Linked DNA regions of Homo sapiens: all the other regions are linked to region 1. The links are contacts of gene promoters, found by promoter capture Hi-C in blood cells and fetal thymus (Javierre and others, 2016). All regions are on one chromosome and are shown on one strand. The core of a region is centred on a gene start or on the middle of the fragment in contact, and the rest is flanking DNA. Distances in the headings are between cores, read along the strand shown. Region 1 holds the start of NPEPL1 (aminopeptidase like 1). Region 2 has its middle 13 kb from the start of ANKRD60. Region 3 overlaps ANKRD60 (ankyrin repeat domain 60).

Region 1 (3,310 bases), core at 80-2,579:
TGAGTCTCTGATTTGCCACCAAAACTGATCTGGGGCAAATCCCCGCGTCTCTCTGGACCTGTTTCCCTGTCTACAGAGCAGGGATGATAACGTCCACAGCCCTCTGGGCGTGCGCTGCAGTCTGAGCAGGGCTGTGAGCTCCCCAGGCCCGAGCTCACCGCTGCCCGACTAGGAGCACCGTGGCTGCCTCCTCTCGAAGCACTCACCACAATGCAGCGATGCGCTCCGGGCGGCAGGCAGGTCCGCACCAGCCGCGTGATGAAGTGGGCGGCCGAGGGGCTGTTGTGCCGGCTCACCCTGCAGGGCAGGGCAGCCACGGTGGCGTAGTTCAGGTAGAGGGGACAGCTGTCCGTGGGGTTGGGGTTGAGCGTGCTCAGGGCAGCCTGCCAGAGCTAGATCAGAAGGGAGAGACAAGACACAGAGGCTTCAAACAGCGGCCACGTGCCAGGAGGCCCTGCCCTGCAGCCACGGCCACAACCACTCCTGCAGTCCTGGAAGGGCACTGCGCAGCTCCCGGCCACCGTTTTCCCATCCTTAGGGAGATGTGTCGCCTCTCTGCAGAGCTAACTGTCTCTAGGCTGGCTCGCATCCCCCTGGTGGGATGAAGCCACCAAGCCTGGAAGGGCCAGGCTGGGGGCTGCTTTGCTTCCAACACTCGGATAGGGCTTAGGCGGCTTCCACCAGAGAGGGGGCAGGGGCCAGGTGTCCCCAAGGAAAGGCAGCTGGGGACACTGCCATGGGAACTTCTGGAAGCCAGGGCCTGTCGCCAGGCGGGGCCGACGCGCGGCCCTGGGAGCGGCCACGTCTCCCCCCCCGCCGTCCGCAGGTGTCGCGGCCTCGCGGGGCGCAGGGCTGGGCTGACAGGAGGACCACCGCGCCGCACCGGCGACGGGGCCTGGGGCTGGGCCTCCGCGGGCGAGGACTGGCCTGGCGGCTGAGCCCTTCAGGGAGGCGGCCCGGCCTCGTTGGGCCCGGCCCGGCGGCGGCGGGGGTGCGGCGGGCGAGGCGGGGCCTCCGCGGGCCGCCCGGGCCTGGGCTTCCGCGGCGCGGGTCGCATGGCGGCCGGCGGCCCGCTCACCTCCTCGGTGACCCGGGGCTGCAGCTTCCCGCGGACGTGGCTCCAGGGCACGCGGTGCAGGTGGTGCAGCTGCCCGAGCAGCAGCAGGGGCCGGCTCTGTGGGTCCGAGTCCCCCGCGCTCGCCTGGAACTGCAGCCCCACGTTCGCCATCTTCCTGCCGGCCCACGCCCCGGCCCTGCCCGGCCCGGCCCGGCCCGCCGCTCGGCCCCCTTCGCCCCGCTCCGGCCCGGCCTCGGCACCGCCCCGGCCCTGCCCGGCAGCCCGCGGGCCCCGCCTCCCCCGCCGCTCCGGGCTGCTCGCGAGACGTGCAGGGCCCGCCCGGGGCGCGAGGGGGCGCCGGCCAGGCCGGGCGGAAGGGTGCGGGCAGGCCCGGCCGGGCAGGCCCGAAGCCGGCCCCGAGCAGGCCCTGCCGAGTAGGGCCCGCGCGCCCGGCCTCCAGCGGCGCCGCCCCTGGGCCTAGCGGCCCTGCCCAACACGCGGGGCGACGTGGCCCGCCAGGCAGCGCCTCCCGGACGGGCCTGGCCTCCAGTGGGGCCTGGGCCGACGTAGGCCCAAGCCCACCCGACGCAGTTCCGCCCGGTCAGGCCTCAGGCTGGCCCCAAGCAGGTCCCCCGAGGTCCCTTAGCAGCTGCTTTTGATCCCCAGGGACCCCGCACCCTGGCCACCCATCAGTTAGGCCGGAGGGGCCCAGTGACTCTTGGACCTGAGTCAGGTCCTTTTGTCCCACTGCCTGGCATGGTGGGTACAGCGTGGACGGTCACTTCCTCCTCACTTAATCGGAGGTTCCCTGGCGTTTATCAGACCCCGCTCTGCCAGGCACTGCCCTGGATGTGAGAGGGTGACAGGGACGTGGCTTTCCATCCAGGGCACTGCTGCTGGGATGGCCAGTTACAAATCCAGGCACTGCCTGGCTGCATGGGGGGCCTTCCCGCCCACCCCTTTGCAAGAAGGGTCATCTGGCACAGTCTAAGCAGGAAAGGAGGGACGAGATGAGACGAGGAAGGAGCAGGGTGACCTGAGTCACCTCAGTCGCCTTACAGGGGAGGAAAGGCCATCGGGGGTGTGGGGCAGGAGCCGGGTGGTGGAGGAGCCAGGGGTGAGCCTTGAGTGGATGGTGGAGGCGGAGGGTCCCACCCACAGGGTCAGATGCAAGGGTCAGGGAATGACGATGCATTGGGGAAGCTCCACCCAGGAGTCATTTAAAAGCAAAAATCTGTTACCCAACATCCTGATTGCTCAAGGGCCTTTGGTTGGTACCCTCCTCTGTTACCTCCATGTAGTTCCATAAGCCACTCCTGTTATTTTGAGTTTCTTCTTCATAACCAGCCTAAAAATGAAAAAAAAAAAAAAAAAAAAAGAAAAGAAAAAAAGAAAAAAAAGCACTGTCAACTCCCTGGCGTGGTGTGAGAGGTTTTCCACCACTGACCTCCCAGCTGGCCCCCTAGCTCCCTAACTTGTAGCCCCGGGAGCCACAAGCCAGGCTTTCACCTTCCCTGTCCACAGGCTCCAGGTCTGTCTGCTCAGCTCTGAGCCATGGTCCCTGGCCCCTTGGAAACACCACAGACTAGAGCTTCAGCATCCTGAAGGCAGGTCTTTTTGACTTTTTGTTGTTTTTTTTTCCTCCAGTTCCTGGCACAGAGCAGGCACTCAAAAAAAAAAAAAAAAAAAAAAAAAAAAAAAAAAAAAGCTGTTGAATGACTGAAAGGCATTCCTTTGAAACCCTCAGCTTTCCCGACATAAAAGTCAACGCTAATTGGATCTTATTTTCTTCAAAAGATTTTACAGCAGCTGAATGTTTTCACACATTGGTAAAGGGTACTAACAGTGTGTATGAAGATCTCTCACTCTTTTTTCTGTTTGCAAATACGTTGCAGACAGGCACACGGCACTCCAGAGGACTGAGACAGCTGGAGGATCTTCCTAGAGGGTGAGAGACTAAGGCCATGCCCTGACAGATGTAATAGGACTTCCACAGGCGAAGAGATTGAGAAAGAAGGCCTTCCACGTGGGAGAAGTCCTGGGAGGAAACACAGACGCAGAATATGTCCAGCAGGCTCTGAAACCTGTGTGGTTAGAACAGAAGGTTCCTGGAAAATAGGAGTGGGTGAGGAGATCGACTGGGGAGCCTGGCTCACTCTATAGAATTTTGCAAACTGAAGAGGGATCCAAGAAGCATTTCAGAAAGCCAGATCTAGCAGGTTTGTGTACAAGGAGTTGGAAATGAGATAAACT
Region 2 (3,262 bases), core at 270-2,769, 450 kb after region 1:
GGGTGGGCACCAGAAAGTACCTTCCCTCTTCTCCAGAGATGACAAGAACTTCTTCTTTGGGGAGGTTAACCATGTAAATGCTCTGTGTCACTGCTAACAGACATCAACATCTTTTAATAATAGTGGAGGGTGAATTCAGGCAGTTCCTGGAATTTCAAGTGGACGAGGCCTCCCAGAGCAGCTGTCACACCAGCCGCCCATTTGGTAGGCGCTCTGGCATACGTGGATGCTCCAGTGCTGGTCCTGGCATGCTGTTTCTCTTTCTTTTGAAAAAGCACCAGTGACCCCCTTCCTCCTGTGGGTGGAACCAGCCCCTTGTGAGACCACGGCCCCAAAGCTGGAGTGAAGAGGGGCCCATGATTTATTTCTTCAGGTTTCTCCAGGAGCTTGGGTCAACCCCTTGTAGCTGGAGGTTCTTGAGCTGTCCTAGTTTCTACTAAGCTTCCACTTGGACCACTTTAAGTTGGGGTCTTCCACAGGTAGGGGGGCAGAATGGAGGATTAAAATGAGGGAGGAGTCTGTGGTCATACAGTCATTGGGATAGCACCGTGTCATTATCATGTGCCATGATGGATAATCTCTTCAATCTCATGGTCTCCAGGGCCTAAATACCAGTTGTTTCTCTATTCATACAGTTTAGAACTTGATTTCAGTGATTAACACCTCCCTTACCCCTTAGGCCTGCTCTAATAAAGCAAAATAAAACATTTTAGAACTCAAACATAAAATGTGTAGGAGTTGGTTATCTGTGATTAATAAGAAATGGGGTGATATCCTCTTCTGCTGGTTTGTTGCTAAAAAAATTAGCAAGAAAGCTCATTATTGTCAACCTTGTTACCTAGAGTGCAAAAGTTGCAAGTGTTAAGTAGAAGGGTGTGACCACATTTACCTTGGTGGGGATGTGATAGTATTTGGACTTCTTTATCATAGAGGTGAAAAAAAAAAAAAAGAACAGATTCCTCCAGGCTGGGGCTTTTGAGTTGCAGCTTTAAAAGGGTTTGTGTAATGGAGCCTGTTTTATGGTGTGGGAGGGCAGAGCCCTTGAATTTGCGGCTTGACTCCAAGATCCTAGTGGGATTAATTAGGATGCTTCCTGTCGCAAAAGAAGGGAGAGGAAATAAAAAACTCCAAGAACCATGAGGAAAATGTTCTCTTGCACAAGACAAGAGGAAGAAGTGCTGTGGTTGGGCAGCTTCTGGGCTGCTAGACTCCATACCTTTGGTGCTGATCTGTCCACCCTTCCCCTCTGCTGTGGTGGCTTTTGTCAGCATGAAATGCCCAGTGGAAGGCGGGGCCTGTGTCTTCCCACTTGTCTCTTTTGAAGAACAAGGACACCCCAGGCGGGAAACCACCTCCCTGCCCTCTCCTTCTGCCTCCCTCTTCCTGGCCACAGTCACGGTGTGCATTCATGGGTTGAGCATGGTGAACTGGGCAGAAACATGGGAGCCCCCTGAGTCGGGATCCTGCTAGAAAGAAGGCTGCTGGATGCTGAGTGGTGGGTGCACAGGTAGCCAGCCAGCATGGTGTCCCACTGGGGTTTGGGGAACTCACAATACCTTCTGGAGGTGCCATGACTTGTGGTGATTTGCTTAAGCCTTGATTTGGCTCCTGGATTAAGTGCTGCACATATGCTTGCACTGAAGACTTTGGAATAAAATTAATTTCTAAAGGGATAATAGTGATTCTAATGACACATCTTGTTACTATATGTGAATTTATTAATAATAAGACCACAAGAAATTGAGGTCTTAGGTTTTTATACCAAAATATTTCTGTTTTATCATGTCCTCTGTTAAAATAAATAGTACATATCAGTGAAAACCTTGGGAATTGAAGGTTCTGGTGGCGCGCCTCAGAGCAAACGAAGCATCTATCGGTGTGTTAATCGACTTTCCTGGATCATACATTGAGCTGATTTGTCAGAATCCATTAAGCTGGTAGACAGTATGACATTTCAAGTGCAACTTGGAAATCCATGTTATGGTTGAAGGAGAAGGTCAGGTCCATCTCAGTTAATGTTAATCAACGATCAGAGACCAAAATGTCACCATTGAATGTTCTTGTTCATTTTAATTGTTTACCTAATGTAAAGGTTTATCAGCGAACATCAGGAGTGTTTGTACCTGTGAAAATCTAGGACAATTTTCTGATTAAATACTCCTGTATCAGCCACATCTTTTCTCTCAGATTCATTGGGTTCCCCAGCCCCCATCCTCTTTCAGGGACCCACCATTGCTGCAATCCCTGATTACCAAGAAATGCTGGAGGTGCTGGCTCTACCACTTCTTGCAAACCTCACCCTTCTGGAGTAGTCTGTGCCTTAAACATGTGAATATTACTTAAAGGTGTTGGTTAGCCATACCAGGGAGTCCCTAGGGCATAAGGAATAGTGGATGCAAACTCACAGGGTTGCTCCTCAGTGCTTTCACTTTAGCCTTTGTATTTCTGTAAGGACCTCCAGCAGTCTTGAAATTAAAATGTATGAAATCAATTTTCCTTTGCACTTAAAAGAACTGGTTTATACAGTATCATATGTAACTGTGCAAATGTAATTTTTAACATCTGGAAAGATACCATTGACTTCAAGGAAAGCTTTTGCCTTGGCTTACAGAAGTAATTTCTGGCATTGAAAAAGGACTCTTTGAAGGGGAAGTGACAGGACAGCTGCTTCCTTTGGAGCAAATTGGTAACATGTCCAATCAACTCTGTAGGATCCAGGTGGACCCAGAAATGGAACCAGTGACCATCTGGAGACTGACCAGAGGCAGGATCCCACCCCACTTGAAGAGAATAAATCTAAATTACAGGTTCGTTTCTTTCGGGGGCGGGGGGGCGGGGAGGCAACTCAAAACTGTGTATTTTCTTAAAGTTAACTTTAAGAATTGGAACCAAATATTTTTTCTTCTATCAATATTGATTACATATTTTAATTCATATTTCGTGTTGCTAATTGTAAAAAATTAATTGTAAGGTAGTGTTTAAGCTTCTGAACAATCTATAATAGTGTTTTCAATAAAGCAAACTAATATGAGAAAAAAATAAGACATCTAACACTGATTTGATTGAGTTCTATCTCAGTCAAGCACAGTCAAACATAGACGTGATTATCAGAGTATAAGGTCTCAGGTGCTAGGTTCTTGGGGCAGTTGTAAGAAAAGAGAAGGCAGTCTCCATTCTCAAGAGCTGGATGTACCAGCCTAAGCAGACATTGCTGTCTAGACTGTCCTCTATGATATCAAATATTGTGCCAATCTTAAGAAGA
Region 3 (3,071 bases), core at 376-2,875, 470 kb after region 1:
TCTTGATTTGGTGAACGTGCTGCTAGCATCTAGTGGGTAGAGGCCGGGAAGCTGTGAACACCAGACAACGAGGAGGGGCCCCTGCCACAAGGAGTTACCCAGTCTAAACTGTCAGCAGTGCCAAGGTGGAAAAATCCCTCCCACGCTTCAATTTGAAAGATCCAACATTTTTTTTGTCATTGTCACCTCTTTAGCCAGGTAATGACATTATCCAAGAGTATTTTGGTTTACCCTATATGATTTGTATAACCACATTGTGCTGTGTGTCTAATGACTGGTTACTTCAGGTTTAAGTCATTCTATTTGTAGAGTTTGCCTCATAAAATGACTTTACTGACTCATGTGCCTTTTCACAATAGGACAAGTTATAATTACAGAATTTTATAAATCGTTGGCATTGTGATTTTGTTCGGCTTCCATCTGAGCTGAACCAAATTTATTTTCTGAAAAGCATTACCAACAACAGACAGACCCACGCGACACCATCAAATGAGATTTGTATTCGATATTTCTAAAATTATCTTTGTGGCACTCAAGGTCAGATAATCTCTTAACTTAACCAATGTAGTAGTTTATCTTTAATACCCAATTTTTTAAAAGAAAAAAAATTTTTCCCTGCAGGAGTTTTGATGGATGACACTACCCTGAAGTTCCATGATGTTGTTCCTGGAGGGATTATTTCATTATGTATCTGGCATCATGACGGATGGACAGAACTTGTTTTGGCGGCTGTGGAAGGGGATCCCAGCAAGGTGTTTTCAAGCTTCTTTAAATGGATATTATACGTTACGAAGCAACCGTAAATTGTGGGGGGAAAATTAGTCTTTAATACGGATATGTGAATAACAGTTTCAGAGCAGGGAAGAGAGAACGATGAGCCGTGTCATAATTATGAAATACCGCACTGAGGGTTTGCCTTCACTCCTTGGGTTTACCATTTTGCTGGGTTTATCGATTTGTGATTTATAACCCACTTACCGCCCCACCCCTCCCCGCAAAGGAGTCGAGGCAGCACGTTTCTATTCATGTTTATAAGTGATAAGGTTGGAAATCTAATTTAATACTGAGAGGAGAACTCCAGATAACTGAGAAGCGTACAGCTCAGAGCTCGGGGCTGTGGTACAGGCCTCCGCCAGGTGCTGCCTGGTTCCGGAGGGAGAGGCCCCTCGTTCCCGGGGTGAGCGGCGGGCGCTCTGTCCTCCAGGGCTCCTGCTGGCCTCTCAGCTGGGCTCTAGGGGTGGGCAGTGGGGGGCAGGAGGATAGAAACCAGATGTGTACCCAACAGGGAAGATGAATCACTGTGACACGAGGGGCAATGCTATATTCTTCCTAGAAAAGAAATTCGGATGGAAAGCTATGTGCTCCTGGAGAAGAAGAGATGGAGTTTCTTTGCTCAGAAAGGGGTCAGGGAAGGCTGGGTGTAGCAGGGGCTGGGATTGGCGCTCTTGGAAGAGTGCGTGGGCTCGGGGCAGGTGCGGCAGGAGGCAGCCTTGGCAGGGAGGGTAGGCAGGATGGGGCCCTGTCCCAGCCCTGACACATCTCCTAGTCCCTCCCGCTCCTCCTCCTCCACACTCTCCTCTGCCCCTTCTGTCTCCCTGCCCTTTGTCACCAGCAGTGTGGTCCATGCTTGGTTTTCTGGCTCTTACTCTGGCTGCAGGGGTCACCTCCCTGCTGTTTGAGGCTGTCAGAATTGCCATCATCCTCGTCTCGATTCTGATCCTCCCACTGCCCCAGTCCTGACTCCCATATCAGGGCAGAGTATCCTCCCTGGGGGAACCCGTAGCCTTCCTCCCAGGCTCAAAGACTTAATTCACCACGAGGTGGTTACGTGACCGGGCTGTTCACCTGTGCATGTTCAGCTTGCTCTGAAACCTAATGGAGACAGTGGGCACACAAATAGACGGGAAAGCCAGATCCGGTCTCCAAGAGATGACTGTCACCCTCTGGGAGGCCATTTATATTGGCTGGTGTCTTCCTCAGTGGCTTCAACCACCTTCCTGTGGACACCTGGCAAAGCTATTTTCTCTCTTCAAAACATTGACAGGAAGACCTTCCTGTGTTCCGAGCCTGACTGACGGCGAATTCGTATTTCCTGAACATATATAAAGCATTAAATCATGGCCTCCCCATGCTGTCCTGGGTGTTTCTCAGCTTTTCATGAGGGTTTGCACCTCTCTTTTCCCATCATGAGCCTTAATTTGACATTCAAGCAAGCCTTCCCCTGAGCATGCCCCATCAGCCGTCCAGCAAAATGTAGCCACGCTTTTGAGAATAACTCAAACTCCTCTTGTCTTGCCCAGCTATCTTGTCTCGGGCTTACTGAAGATTCCTTCTACCGAACCGCAAATTCAGAACATTTTGAGGGTGAGAAGTGGAAGCACTGGACGTCTCAGAGGGCGTTTGTGGCGTTGTATGTGGCCTCACACAGAGGCCACTTTGATGCTGTGCAGTACCTTCTAGAACACGGTAATTCTGGTAGAAAGCTTGCTATATTCATGAGTTGGGATTTTTTGCAGGTAGAAAGGACAGAGTGTCTTGTGTTCCCAGTCCTTCCAGCAGTGGTTTCCTGGACCTGTGTCTTGTCAGCCACCAGTCAGGGTCCCCATGGTGCCACTCACTCCCTGTCTAGGCAAGTGTCTTAGGGCACGCCAGTCAGAGGCTGCCCTCCTTCTCTTCACCAGGTCTCGAGAAGATTCTTTCTGCTTCAGTGAGGCAGAAATTTCAGGACCCAAGACACAGGCGGCAGCTATAAAGGATCCCTGGTTCATTTCTCACCAGACACATTGCTGGGAATATTCGCATGCTGTCTGTGTGATTTCCAGCCTCGCATGAAATTAGGATGCTGCAATGGTCCGAAATGGTCTAGCCTCTGGCCAGGCACGGTGGCTCATGCCTGTAATCTCAGCACTTTGGAAGGCTGAGGCGGGCAGATCACATGAGGTCAGGAGTTCACAACCAGCCTGGCCAACCAGCCTGGTGAAACCCCGTCTCTACTAAAAATACAAAAATTAGCTGGGTGTGGTGGCACGTACCTGTAGTCCCAGCTACTCAGGAGGCTGAGATAGGAGACT

What was found. The method cuts DNA at HindIII sites, captures the fragments that hold promoters and counts their contacts. A CHiCAGO score of 5 or more calls a contact.
Region 2: a contact is called between a fragment that was not itself captured here and the fragment with the promoter of NPEPL1 in region 1, in 10 of 17 cell types (total B cells, naive B cells, megakaryocytes and 7 more). The highest score is 9.9, in total B cells.
Region 3: a contact is called between a fragment that was not itself captured here and the fragment with the promoter of NPEPL1 in region 1, in 1 of 17 cell types (activated CD4 T cells). The highest score is 5.2, in activated CD4 T cells.

Annotation. Positions count from the first base shown.
Region 1 is chr20:58,690,819-58,694,128 of GRCh38, reverse strand. It overlaps NPEPL1 (aminopeptidase like 1), which reads right to left and starts at 1,329. Exons shown (of 12, transcript NM_024663.4): 1 at 1,079-1,329; 2 at 207-392. The coding sequence starts at 1,228. It overlaps STX16-NPEPL1 (STX16-NPEPL1 readthrough (NMD candidate)), which reads right to left. Exons shown (of 23, transcript NR_037945.1): 9 at 2,902-3,095; 10 at 2,567-2,724; 11 at 2,349-2,405; 12 at 207-392. RefSeq lists silencers at 814-903, 924-1,003, 1,034-1,193, 1,204-1,693 and an enhancer at 1,191-1,896. The HindIII fragment of the contact is 11,943 bases long and covers 1-3,310 here.
Region 2 is chr20:58,240,060-58,243,321 of GRCh38, reverse strand. It overlaps the pseudogene PPP4R1L. Among named protein-coding and RNA genes, the nearest start is that of ANKRD60, 13 kb to the right of the region's middle. RefSeq lists an enhancer at 1,358-1,858. The HindIII fragment of the contact is 2,151 bases long and covers 444-2,594 here.
Region 3 is chr20:58,220,733-58,223,803 of GRCh38, reverse strand. ANKRD60 (ankyrin repeat domain 60) reads left to right here. Exons shown (of 4, transcript NM_001304369.2): 2 at 622-752; 3 at 2,301-2,466. Among named protein-coding and RNA genes, the nearest start is that of ANKRD60, 6.4 kb to the left of the region's middle. The HindIII fragment of the contact is 1,720 bases long and covers 766-2,485 here.